Regions from separate parts of the Homo sapiens genome. Here regions 1 and 3 are each linked to region 2. The links are contacts of gene promoters, found by promoter capture Hi-C in blood cells and fetal thymus (Javierre and others, 2016). All regions are on one chromosome and are shown on one strand. Each heading gives the region's core, a stretch centred on a gene start or on the middle of the fragment in contact. The rest is flanking DNA. Distances are from core to core; before and after follow the strand shown. Region 1 overlaps KIRREL1 (kirre like nephrin family adhesion molecule 1). Region 2 holds the start of CD1B (CD1b molecule). Region 3 overlaps SPTA1 (spectrin alpha, erythrocytic 1).

The links. The method cuts DNA at HindIII sites, captures the fragments that hold promoters and counts their contacts. A CHiCAGO score of 5 or more calls a contact.
Region 1: a contact is called between a fragment that was not itself captured here and the fragment with the promoter of CD1B in region 2, in 1 of 17 cell types (fetal thymus). The highest score is 5.6, in fetal thymus.
Region 3: a contact is called between a fragment that was not itself captured here and the fragment with the promoter of CD1B in region 2, in 1 of 17 cell types (fetal thymus). The highest score is 10.3, in fetal thymus.

Annotation. Positions count from the first base shown.
Region 1 is chr1:157,997,205-158,001,305 of GRCh38, forward strand. All of the region lies in intron 1 of KIRREL1 (kirre like nephrin family adhesion molecule 1), which reads left to right. Among named protein-coding and RNA genes, the nearest start is that of KIRREL1, 5.6 kb to the left of the region's middle. The HindIII fragment of the contact is 3,235 bases long and covers 16-3,250 here.
Region 2 is chr1:158,328,814-158,333,121 of GRCh38, forward strand. It overlaps CD1B (CD1b molecule), which reads right to left and starts at 2,718. Exons shown (of 6, transcript NM_001764.3): 1 at 2,550-2,718; 2 at 1,983-2,249; 3 at 1,039-1,317; 4 at 557-835; 5 at 108-201. The coding sequence starts at 2,610. The HindIII fragment of the contact is 309 bases long and covers 2,671-2,979 here.
Region 3 is chr1:158,644,749-158,649,239 of GRCh38, forward strand. SPTA1 (spectrin alpha, erythrocytic 1) reads right to left here. Exons shown (of 52, transcript NM_003126.4): 26 at 3,761-3,905; 27 at 2,791-2,972; 28 at 747-846; 29 at 440-637. Among named protein-coding and RNA genes, the nearest start is that of SPTA1, 40 kb to the right of the region's middle. The HindIII fragment of the contact is 1,162 bases long and covers 2,577-3,738 here.

The sequences.
Region 1 (4,101 bases), core at 383-2,882, 330 kb before region 2:
CATTTGGTAGTCGTAAGCTTGAACAAGTCATGTACATTCCCTGTGCCTCAGCATGCTCTTCCAGAAGTGAGGATGGAAGTAATACCTCATAGGGTTGTGGTGGCACTTGAATATGTTAATCCATGTAACGTACATGGAACAGTGTCTGGCACAGCGAGAAGTGCTCAGTAAATGCTTGCTATCTTGGCTTTGAGGTGAGACATAGATAGACAGGCAGTCAAGTTGTCTGCGCTTCCTTTTCTTCTCCCTATGATTCTTTGTGGGGTGTGTGTGTGTGTGTGTGTGTTTTCTAGCTCCAGCTCCCCAGATTCTTGGTCCTGGGCTTCAGTAAGTGCCTTCTTTGTATCTCTCATGGAAAGAACTATGTTGTGGCAGACCCAGAAGGGGAAACTGACCCCCTCCTTGGAGACCTCAGAAAAGATCTGGGGAAGGGATTTGAGGAGAGAGAGCAAAAGTGGAAGAGGTTGGCACTTGAGTGAGAAGGAACCAGAGCTCTTGTGTGAAATGAGGAGGGACACTAGCCCCGAGGTGGCAGCATTTCAGAGTCTGGAAATAATATGGATCATTTATTGAGCCCTGTGTAACTACTTCATATGCATTATCTAATTTAATCTATGCTACAGCCCCCTGAGATTGGCTGTGTAAATTATCCCCATTTCATGGATGAGAAACTGAGATTTATTTATTTATTTTTTTAGATAGGGTCTTGCTCTGCTGCCCAGGCTAGGGTGCAGTGGTGTGATTATGGCTCACTGCAACCTCCTCCTAGGCTCAAGCCATTCTCCTACCTCAGCCTCCTAAGTAGCTAGGACCACACACACCTGGCTAATTTTCTTTTTTTTCTTTTGGAGAGATGGGTCTTGCTAGGTTGCACAAGCTAGTCTCAAACTCCAAGGCTCAACCGCTTCTTACATCTCGGCTTCCCAAAGTGCCGGGATTATAGGTGTGAGCCACTGTACCTGGCCAAGAAACTGAGGTTTAGATACATTAAGTATCTTATTGGTAGTTGTAGGAACCAGTGGATCCCACAGCCTGCACCCTTCTCCTTTGCCAGATCCTACATGCCAGCAGAGACTGATGCTGGACTGGGACAGGGATTTTCCTGGTCCATAGCAGAATGAGAACTAGGAAGAAAAGGGAGTGAGTATTTCATAAAGGTAAACTCATTCAAATTTAAAAAACAATCCTTTATTCTGAGATTCTGTCCTACATTTTTTGGTGTTAAATTGTTTTTCTTTGATGATATGATAAATCTAGTAAATGACTTTTTTCAAGGACTTGGCAAATAAAAAGGTTTGTTTCTAATATTAAACACAGCCTTGTTACAGGTCCATGAACTACAAATTTGGGAATTATTCTTGTTCCATGCAAGGCTGACTCCTGGAGAGGCCCAGAGCCATACAGAGGCAAAAGAAGCACTGAGAAGGGGTCTAGGGGATAATCCTGAGACCAGGATCTCCCCAAGTGTCAGCTTCCAAATTTGTCTGGTCCCTGGTAGTCTGGTAGGATTGGAGGCTAGGGTCTTAGATGGCTTGTTCTAACCCGCCTGGGGAGGCTTTCAACCCTCCTTCTTAGCCTGTGCCCTGGGGAACTGCCTGGCCTTGGGTGGTGAAAAGTGATTGTAGGAGGTGAACTCCATACCAAAGCATCAAAATTACCTTTTATTGAATTCCTACAGTGTGCTTTTCAGGTTAATGTTACTCCCATTTTATAGATGAAGAAACCACAGTTGAGAGTTTAAGTAACTTGCTGAAGGGCATACCTGAGGTGTTAGACCCCAGATTCAACCCCTCTTTTGTCTCCCTCCTAAGCGCCATGAGTGCCCTTCAGCCTGCCTAGAAGAGCCACACCCTGCCTTTCTTAGAGTTAAGGCAGCTGTGGAAGGACAGGAGGGAAGCCTAGGCCTTTTTTCCTCTCCTGGTGCCTCACTCAGCTCAGCCCCCTTCCCTAGTTCTCAGCCCAGAAATTCCAAGGACACATCTATCTCCCTGCCTTGCTTTGATGATCATTTGTGAAGCAAAACTTAGATGTCAGGATACATGTTTTAATCAGTGGGGCTGGGACCAGTAAATAATGCCCCTTGTCAGAAGGAGGTTTGGAAAGCCTCAATCCTTTTCCTCCCACGTTTAGAGTCTTTTATCTTTGTACCTGTATGGTGCTTGGCAATTTTAGCAACTTTTCACATGTACCATTTGATAGAGAGATACACTCATCCTATGGTGTAGGCAGGAGAGTTGTTTCTCCATTTAATAGATGAGAAAACAGAGACCTAGAGAAGTTAAATAAATTGCAAAGGGGTGGCAGTTGGTATGGAGGGAAGGGATGGGGACAAATTCCTTAATCTCCCCAATTTCTGGGAGATGTTTCCATCTGAGGCTAGAGACATTTCTCTTCATATGTCCAGAGATGAGAAAGTTATGCCCCTTCCCGACCTACCAGTTCCTGTCTGGTTTCTTCCCAGGGCCTCTGGACCAGTTTACTTGGCAATCTCCTGGAGGGTTCTTTGACCTGGAAAAGGATGGGGGTGTGGGGGTGGGTTGTCAGCAGTAGAGGAGAAAGAGGCTGTCATGTCCTTGATCCTCAAATGTGAAACCAGGGAGGAGGAAGAGGCAATTTCAGAAATCAGGAAAAATAATGGGCTCTCTCAGAGTGGGGGAGAAATCCGTTCACTTTTGTGAAGGGCAATTTTGTATTTTACATGCATTAGTAACTAATTCAATACTGACATAATTGTTGAAGTTAGGTGTTATCCCCATTTTACAGATGGACAAACAGGGATCCAAAGAAGTTAAGCAGATTGTCCAAGATGATCCAGCTAGTAAGTGACAGAGCCAGAACTAGAACCCAAGCAGGAAAGATGGGGTGGGGGCTGAGGATAATTCCTAGAAGGAAGACTGCACACCTACCTGTTCTGCATTACTGCTGCATGCAAGCGTGTGGATGCAATCTCACTGCATGCATATGCATATGCATATGTATTCACACATGCCTTCATAGTGCAGCTATACATGCACCCACTTCTTATCCCCATCCCCATACACATCTGGACAGATATCTCTCATCTTTACCCAAGCCTTTTCAGTCACCAGAGCACTAGTGTGCAACAGTAGTACATTTTTGTGAGTCATTTTTCTTCCAGCCATAGCAGCCCTCCTGTGTCTTTAAAGGCACTACTTTTTGCCTTGCCTTGCATGCCCTGCATCCTCTCTGATAGATGCACAAACTGTGAAGTTATGAAAGTTGAGAAAGAAGCTTGGGGTTCCTCATTCTGTAACACTGGTCCCTCTCCATTCTGTAGCTCCAGCTCTTATACCTTCCTACGTCTGATTGTCAGACAATGCGAACCTAATTAAGTTCTTGGAGCATCCAGGATAAAAGCTGCTGTAGCTCGCAGACATCACTGAAGTATGACACTTTTGTTTTTTCTTTCTATCCCACTTACTCTCCCTCTATCAGCTGACTCCAAGCTCCCAGCTTGTCCTTCCCTCCATATTTAATTTATTCAGCCACTTTTATTAACCTCTGTTGTCTCCAGGGGCTGCAGTCCTCATCCCTCTCTGCCCTCCTTGAGCCCATTTAACAAAATAGGCATCGTATTGAAATAAATGAGCCTTGCAGCCAGTCAACCTCCTCAGGATTAAGGGTCTTAAATCCAGGGGTAGAAATCTCCAGAACTCTCTAGCAAATTCCATTAGTTTCCCAGGAGAGAATGCTGCCGCTTCATTCCTTTTGCAATCTGGCTCTGGAAGGTGATGGGAGACTCACCCAGAATGCTGTGGGTCTTGGGTTTTGAGGCAGGGAAGGGATAACAGGAACCCGAGTGTCTGGAGGTGTACTCTGTGCCCAGCAGGTTTATCCCAGGAAGCTGTCCCATCCTAGGTCCGCTTCAGAATCGACTAGGCCATTGGATGCCTTTTCTTTTTGCCCCTTCTTTCCTTCTGAGGCAGTCTGAGGAATATATCTTCACTGAAAGATGTGTGGAAAGAGGAAGGACTTTTGTTCCTTCATTCAGCGGAAGAGAATTGTGTGCTTACTGTGTGCTGGGCTCCAGTGTTGCAAAGTGAATAATGTACTAGATCTCTGCCCTTGAAGGTCTCACTT
Region 2 (4,308 bases), core at 1,468-3,967:
AAGGATTGAGGATAAACAATTTTTAAATAGATAAAATGGTAAAAAACAGTGGAAGGGTGAACAGAAAAGACATATTAAAAAAAAAAACAACACCACCCACAACTCACCGGCGCCTCATATACCATAATGCAAGGCATAGCAAAAGGAGCAAGGAAGGCACTATTATTGCCAAAACAATTGAGCCAATGGAGGTGGGGTTTCCTGGCAATTGAGAGAGGACAAAAGGATGTCACTTCAGATACTATACACAGAATTCCTTGGCCTTCCTTTGCCCACCTACTTCCAATGTATGGTCATTTCCAACTTCCTCTCTCATATTCCTGGCCACCATATATCCATCCTTTGATCCCCTCTACCCAGTTTACAGGTCCTTAATTCCTACATTTTTGATAACTTGGATTATCTATTTTTACTCCTGTTGGGATTGGGGTCAGGGAAATCAATCAATCAATCTCTCCCTCTTTCATCTCTCAAGCTCTATCCTTCCCCAGTGCCTCCCTCTATGCCTGAAGATCACTTCCTGGCATTTCCAGCCTGGGTCCCTGCTATTTCTTACTCCAGTAGAGGATGATGTCCTGGCCCTCTAAACTGCTGTGCTTCACCCGACAGGACAGGCCAGCCGCCTCCCCATCTGCCACATCCAGGGTTGCTCGGAGATACCATGTCCAGTTAGCATTGGGCAGGATGTCCCCTAGCTGAGTGCCCTGCTGCTCCTGCTCACCCCGCATCCACATCACCCACACGGGCTTTGGGTAGAATCCTGAGACATGGCACACAAGCTGCAGACGGCCAGGTCCAGGACTGGGGCCACTGGACAGCCAGGCCTCAGGCTTCACTAAGGCAGGAAGGAGAAAAAAAAGTGTCATGTTATAACTCGAGTTCAGAGGTTATGAACTCAGAAACCTACAAGCTTGGACAGCGACCCCATTCACTCCTTTGGGAACCAAATAACTTGTTATTTAAGCTCCTATCCTTTGATATCTTCCTACTCTTGATCTTAGAGGAGGTGGTGGGAAGTGAAATAACAGCAGGACTAACCTTGTCTTTGCAGATCTGCTTTTCCTGCATTGAGGACGCCCAAGAGATATCGGGGGCAGGTTTCATAGAGGAGAATTCTCACAGTTTCCATGATACCTTGATATTGTATGATTAGTGCACAGAATTTCTGTGCCCTGCTGCCACCTTCTGGGGAAGGCACACATGAAGCATTCTTGACACTCAGGAAATCCAATCCTCCTAGAGCTCCCCTCAGGAAGCTTACTATGGCACCTCCAGAATGTAGCTCACAGCCTGCTATGCCCTGGATCTCAAAGGGGTCTATGTAGAGGGAAAAGAGAGCAAGTTATTAAACACAAATAAGAAAAAAAGGCATGAGAAAAGAACCTAGGATTTTAGATTTTGGTGGGGATAAAGTTATTTGGTGTAAAATGATGATGAGCTAAAAACTAATGATAACATTTAGACATTTTCAGAAACAAGAGCATTGAGAAAAATGTGCATGCCATGAAGACAAAGGTATGTGATAAAGGAGTACAGTGAGTATGAAAGGAGAGGTGAGGCAGAGCGTGGTGCAGTCAGGAGTGCAGCATTCCAGAGTGAGTGGAGGTTCCCAGCAAGAGGAGGGTGCGGGGAGGAGATGATTGAAAAGATGGATTAGGGGAGAAAGCCACACGTTAGATCACTCAGGCACAGGGTAGGAGAAGTAAGGGCCCTTGAGGAGAAGTTTCACATAAGACAAACCAGCAGCTGGTTACAAAGTGGAAGACAGTCTGAGAGTAAGAGAAGAGTGCAGAGGCAGCAAGAATCTGAAATATGAGGTGTGATGGTGTGAAGCTGGAGTGAGAGACTACTCAAGAAAAGCATGTGCGTGCATTTGGGTAAAATAGAAAGGAAGGGAGAAGCATCAGAGAGAGCAACACTTTGCAAAAAAGAGAGAAAAGAGAGTCCTTGAGACTCTTCCCAGTTCGGTGGACTAGACTCACATTTCATCTGGAAATCACCGGCAAAGTCTTGTACTTCTCGAGCGAATCCAAAGATGTAGACTCGGAATATCTCCTCTAACTCAGCAACCTCCTTATCACTAAAGTTACCTTTAGACCAAGGCTTCAGGAATATGGCAGTGCCTGAGTCGCTATCCCAGCCATGAATCTGCAAATCATCCAACCAGCCTGAGCCTTGAGTTTGTGCCCAGGTACTATTGGTAAAGGACGAGGTCTGGATAACATGAAAGGAGGTCGGCCCCTGGAAGGCTGTGAAGAGTGGAAAAGCAAGATGGTGAAGATAAAGAGAGAAGCAGGAGACAATTAGGAAGAATGGGAATGAAAATGATTTAGAAAACAAGAACCTAGAGTCTAAAGAACACAGGAAGTCTGACACATTTGACTGCCTTAAGGCTTCAGGTTCTAGTCCCAACCACCAGAATGGTTGAAGAGGGCGGGAGACAGAAAGACCCAGACCCTTAGTGTCCAATTGCACCTAGGAAAGCCCTGCTTGCTTTTTAAAATCCAAACCCCTGCACCAGTGCTGGGAGCTGCCAGAGTGACTCTTACCATGTTCACTGTTACCACCAGGAAAGAGAACAGCTAACAGTTGAAATGGCAGCAGCAGCATTTCACTGGGAGATGCAACTTCTTACTGGCAGAGCTGGTATTTGATCTCCAATTTCAGCAAAGCTTTTCCTCAGTACCCTGTAGTGACTTCTTCTCTCTTCCAACTGCCAAATCTCTTCCTCATCCAAACTGCTTTTCAGAGAAAAATGTGCCTCCCACAGCCCTGAGCCTCTTACCTCACCTTTTATTTCCCTCAAGCCCTGATTTTTAGAGTTTCTCTTACCCCCTGACTTCCAGCCGCTCTCCCTGTCCTCACCTTCCTTCATACCTCCTTGGAAAAGCCCCCATATGATTCTGCATTTTCATTTCTCCTTCCTTAGCCTTTATTCCCACATCTATAGGATAAGATGGTGATATTAAGCAATTGCTAAGCTTTTAGTCTGCTTTAACCCAGAAGGATGCTTTTAGTTTATCCACCTCACTTAGTTTCTCCCCCTCCCAGCTGCCTTATCTTCTCTGGCACTCTGTTACTGCCTCTTCCCAATGTTTTCAATGTCTTCTCTTTCTTATATTGCCCTCTTTGTCTGGTGTTCCTTACCCCACATTCTAAACTGGCTGTGAGTGTGTGTGTGTGTGTGTCTGTGTCTGTGTGTGTATGTGTATGTGTGTGTACCGATATTCACTTACATAAAGGCAAAGCATTTAAAACATTTCCTGTACTATAGCACTACAAACCAAAATGCCAGAATCAAATATAATAAAGACTGAAGTTTATAATTCAAACAAAATTATACTATAGCAATATTTGAGGGAAAAAATGACAATTGCTGCTAGCATGTGACCTTCTCTTCAGGAGCTCTTGGCCTATGGAGTTTTGAGTAACAAATATTCATGACATAAACAGAACTCTAGGAGCTATGCTATGTGCACCTCCAGCCTAAGTCAAAGATAACTTTTTGGGTAAGTTGCCATAAGCGGCAGAGCTTTTTTCTTCTCTTGTAATATCTCATAACTGCTGTCTACATTTGGGCATTCATATCACCACATGTGGTATTAATAATAGAGCAAAGAGGTTGCTTTTTTTTATACAAAAAGTTCAGAGATACTTGTTTTAAGATGTCACCTCCTATCTTCTTGTATGCCCATGAAAAATTTTAAGAAGAATTTTTGGATTTTCTCCATTTAGGAAAAAAATCACATATTTGCAGAGATCTATGTATCATGCAGAAATGTGGCAGCAATCGATTCCGAGTAAAGAGGGTTATCACTAACTAATTCTATTATGTGGATAAGAAAATGCAAAGTGAGTAGTGTAGTGTTCTCTATTCCTGGGGACACTACTGGTTCACAACATTAATAAGACTGGTTCACAACATTAATAAGACTAGCCTTCATCCAAGATTATTACTGCCTAATTGATAAATACAGAGCAGCTCTCCAAATTTCAATGTATGTATCTCTTAACAACATTCCCAGACTCCAATACATGACAGAATTGAATCTACTTTTTGGATAACAGCCATAGACAACAGCAGAGACTTAACATTGGCTGTCACAGACATGAACATTACTATTTTTGTGTTTATACGTTTTTTATTTTGGGTAGAACACCCAAAACAGAGCTCAGGAAAAGCTGGTAGACAACCTGGGCTATTTTCCATTAAAATAAGTGAGTTCTTGCAAGACTCCCAAAGTTGAATTGCTACAAACTAAATCTGAAATGTTCCTCATTTTAAAAAATAATCCAAAAGAGTTGGCA
Region 3 (4,491 bases), core at 1,908-4,407, 320 kb after region 2:
TTAGCCTCAAAGCACTCGTACATTTTGGTTTATTAATAATCATCTCACTGTACTAGTAAAATTTATCTATATGTCTAATTTCACTATTTAAGAAATGGGAAACTATCTTACTAATCTTTGTGGCACTCCGAGCCTCCACAGAGTAGAGTCTCAACAAAAATCAGCCAATCAATTCCTCAGTCAATCAACAAATGATAGTCAACCCACCTCATGCTCAGGACTGATCACCATCTTGTTTGGCTCTTCTAACAAGAAAGAGCAGAGAATATGACAATGATCGGTATAGAAAGCATAGTACAATGCTAGGTAATTAAGAGATGAGCTCCCTTTGTGTTTATAACGTGGAAAGTCTAGTGAACGGAGCCTGTAATGACCATATGAAATTGCATAGGAGAAACAGACTACTGAACCTGCTTAACAATTGGGAAATTTGCTGTACCTGCAACTCCAGGCACTGGTCTAGGATCTTCTTGCGTTTTTCCCAAGCCTTCTCCAAATCATCTCTCTCTAGCTTGACAGCTTGAAGCTTTTTTTCAATTTCAGGGCTAGCATGGTGCCCACTGTCGATAAGTTCTGCACTGAAGTCCTCTAAGGCCTGGAAGGTGGGAGCCTCTGCCTCCATGTCAGCACGGTGCTCCTGTGGGAAAAAGGGGGAAGAAATCAGTGAGGCCAACTCCATTGGAAATTTTAAAATTAGTAGAGGTTTCAGGTCAAGTGATCAGTGGCTGTGACTTTTGTAGTTTTACCTGATGTCTCTCCAGCAAGATCTCTATGCCAGTTAAGTCTTCGGCCAGCTCCTGTGATGATACCATGCCACCAATGCTACTGATCCAGTTCTGCAGATCCCTAGATAAACAGACACATTGGAATTGACAAGAAAACCTTGCAACTTGCTACAGTGCTGTTTGTCCTACAGTTTTCCATTCTCTAGAAAACATTTCCAGAATAACATTTTTTATCTGGCTTTATATGCTTTACAGATCTTACGTTTGCTGTTTTTATTATATCACCTAATGATAACAATCCCTTGTATTTGAAAGCCTCTTCACTTTTATTATCTTTTTCAATTCTTGCAGTAATCCTGCAGAGATTCCGGGAATTTTTTGTTTTCATTATGGAGATAAAGAAGTCACCTTAGAAAAGGTAATTAATCTGCCTATGTGGTATAACTAAAAGCAGACATCTTCAATAAAACCTAGACCTCTGGAATCCTGGACTGTTATATATTTCATTACTTCTGTTGGTTACTGTTCCTTTTAAGTGGTTTCTAGGGTTTGAAGATACATCTTATTACAGAGTCTCAAAGAAATCATGTCTTTCCTCTTACTTTTATTCTCAAGTGAATCTAGCACATATTTTGGCCAACATACACATACACACACAGGCCTCCACACTGTTGATTAAATCAAGGTCTATTTCCCTACCCTTTTAGTAGTCAGGAAGTTAGACGAGCAAAACTAAGGTCTATCTTCTTAAAAGGCAAATTTTAACTATGCATTAACTTTAAAGCATATATGGTGTATAAATTAAGCATCTCATAAAGAATGTCATTACTCTTGTTTGCTCAACAGGAACCCTTAGCTCTAGGAAAGAGAGGTCTCTTCTTTTGTAAATTTATTTATTCAAGCAACTAAGTTTTATTGGGTGCTTACTAAGTACCAAACATTGTGAAAAAGGCATATCTGTGCCTTCTAGGAACTCATACTTTAGGTTAAGAATGGATAAAAACAAAACAAAACAAAACAAAAAACAAACAAAAAACAGAGCATAGGCACTAATAGCAATTAAAAAACAAAACTGAAAGCAAAAGTATCATATGGAGTAAAATAAGATGTTAATGTTGCTCAGGGGTGGGAACACTACTCTGAAATACTGAGGAGTACAGCTTCATAAAGGGAAGGAAGCACCATTGGAATGGGTGTGGGTGCTATTTATTTAAACTGTGTCAAAAACTATAGCTTTCCAGTGCTGAACTGGGGAGGGGATTTCCAAGAGGAACTACAGTCATTTGCCAAAATTTGCCTCCTTTTTTCTTGAAAAGCATTGCATTGAGAGCTACAACTTCCTGGACCCTCTACTCTAATGCTCCTCTCAGCTGACTGATGCGATAGAGCCAAACGTGGGAACTGTTCCACAAAGTATATGTTTGAGAGGTGAATTTTGGATTGTGATAATGTCTAGACTTTAGTAAGATATTCACAGTTCTCTGGAATTTGGTCCCAATATTATTTTTAAGTTTATCTCTTACTACTTCTCCTTACCACCCCCTCCCCAAACATGTTCTTATGCTTATTCTTTTCTCATGATTATGTCTTTTTTTGCACAGTTCAGTCTACATGAATTGTTTTCTCTTCTGTTAAAAGTTTGACTGATAAGGTGTAATAAAATGTTACTTTATCTACAGTGCATCATCTATTCTACCCAACTCTGAATTCCCACTGCTGTTTGTTACAATGTGTGTTTTCGGCCTCATTATGTTCTACCATAGTTATTTGTATTCAACAGAATACTGAATACAGTAGAAGACTGAATACTACTGTCTCTTCAGTAGAACAAAAAAGCTTCTACATTATAGAAGCTTACTTAATTGGCCTACATGGCTTCATATTCTTTCAAACTTTGTATTTTATTGCTTCTAGTTTCAAACCTGAAATTTTTTATGCCTTGCAAGAGGTGAGACTTAAACGTAGTGATGCCCTCCAAAACCAGCAGTGAACAGCATCTGTACCCAGACTGCTCCCAGACAGTCTACTTAGAGGCCAGACACGGAAGTTACCCACCCCACTCTACCTGGCCTTGCTGAGGAACAGGTAGAATTTCTGGGCCTCATTTAGGCTCTCCTTACGATCCTTTGTACGCCCCTGCAGGTCTTCCCAGGCCTCATTCAGCTCCATTTTCTGTCTCTGCAGGTCCTCAGTGGCATCTGGATGGGACTCACTGAGCCGCTCTGCTGTCTCCCCCAGTATGGTCACCTGGGGAGGTACAATAGCTCTGATAATCAGCCTAGAGACACACCTGAATCTTAGCAAAAGGAGAATCCTGAGTCCCAGTATTCAGCTCCTCAAATAGATATCAGTGATGTACAAGTATGTCATCATACTTTACAAAATAATATCAACCTTTTAGTCCACATAACTCCCTAAGGTAGTTACAATTGGCATTACCATACTTCTTTTTAAAAATAAGAGAGTTGTGGGGAAGAGTGGTTAAGTGACTCTGCTGGTTAGTGGCAACCTCAATTAGGAAACCCAAGGGTCTTGATTCTTCATGTGAGGAGCTTCTTTTTGCTCTGCATGATAATGCCAAGCCTCTGAGTATATCTGACAAGCTCCAGAGTACACTTTTGGGTTGAAACAGAGTTAAACAACTCATTCAATTCCTTGCTAAGAAAAACATGCACCATACTCAGATATTGGCCTGATCATCCTGGGTATGGACATTTGCTATTTCTTCTGGGCTACTGGCCTCCACCTAGCTGCCACAAGATCTGGTCACTTGTAACCCACCAAAGAGGCAAGGGGATATAGGGTGCTCACTCAGACAGCAGGAGTTTAACAAGTTTTTTCCCCATGTTAATGGTCATGGGGCATATCCTTTTCATGGTCTTGCCTTAGGGACAGTGTACAAGAATAAATATGGCACAGAACAGAGAGAAATATAAGAATAAAAGACTGAAAAAGAGAACCAAAGAAGAGGGCATTGGTATACGGCTAAATATAGACTGGAAAGTGTTGGAAAAGCTTTGAAGGACTTGTCTCACCTTATCTCCCAGGGGTACGAGGTCCCTTTCAAAGCCCTCATGCCGTCGCTGAAGAGCCTGAACACTGAACAGATCTGAGCCAGGGTCTGCAGCACTGAGGGCCTGGCATTTCTTCTCAATCTGCTCCTTCGTGTCATCTGCTTCTCTGGTATACAAGAGAGTAGAGAGTTCAAAAGTAAGGATATGTACCAGAGGCAGGCTAGTGGGGGTCACAAGAAAGTTATCATCACTACCACTCACCATCCTCCCACCCACCCCCCCACCCCAACCAATTATCATCATTGTTTTTTATGTGCTAGAAACTTAGGCTCATTTAATCTTCACAACTCCAAGAAGCATAGTTACTATTACTATTCCCATTAAATAGATCAGAAAACTGAGGACTAAAGAGGGTAAGTATTTTCTCAAGATTATACCACTGCTGAATGGTGGAGCCTAAGCTTGAACCAGGCCATCTGACAGCAGTCACATGCTTAACCATCATATTTCCATAGCTTTCTATCTTAAGCATTCTACACACACAGACCTGTCTGAGTCTGTTTTTCCTTCCCTGCATCATCAAAAATACATTTATACACAATGAAGGTGTTTAGTTTCTGTTTTGTTTGTTTACTTTTTTGTATGTGTCTTTGTGTTTCTTAGTTTGAAAATCAAACAAGAAAAATGTTGAATGAGCTGATAGTCAATGTGATGTCTGTTGCCCTCTACTGTCAGCTTCTAGTTGAGAAATG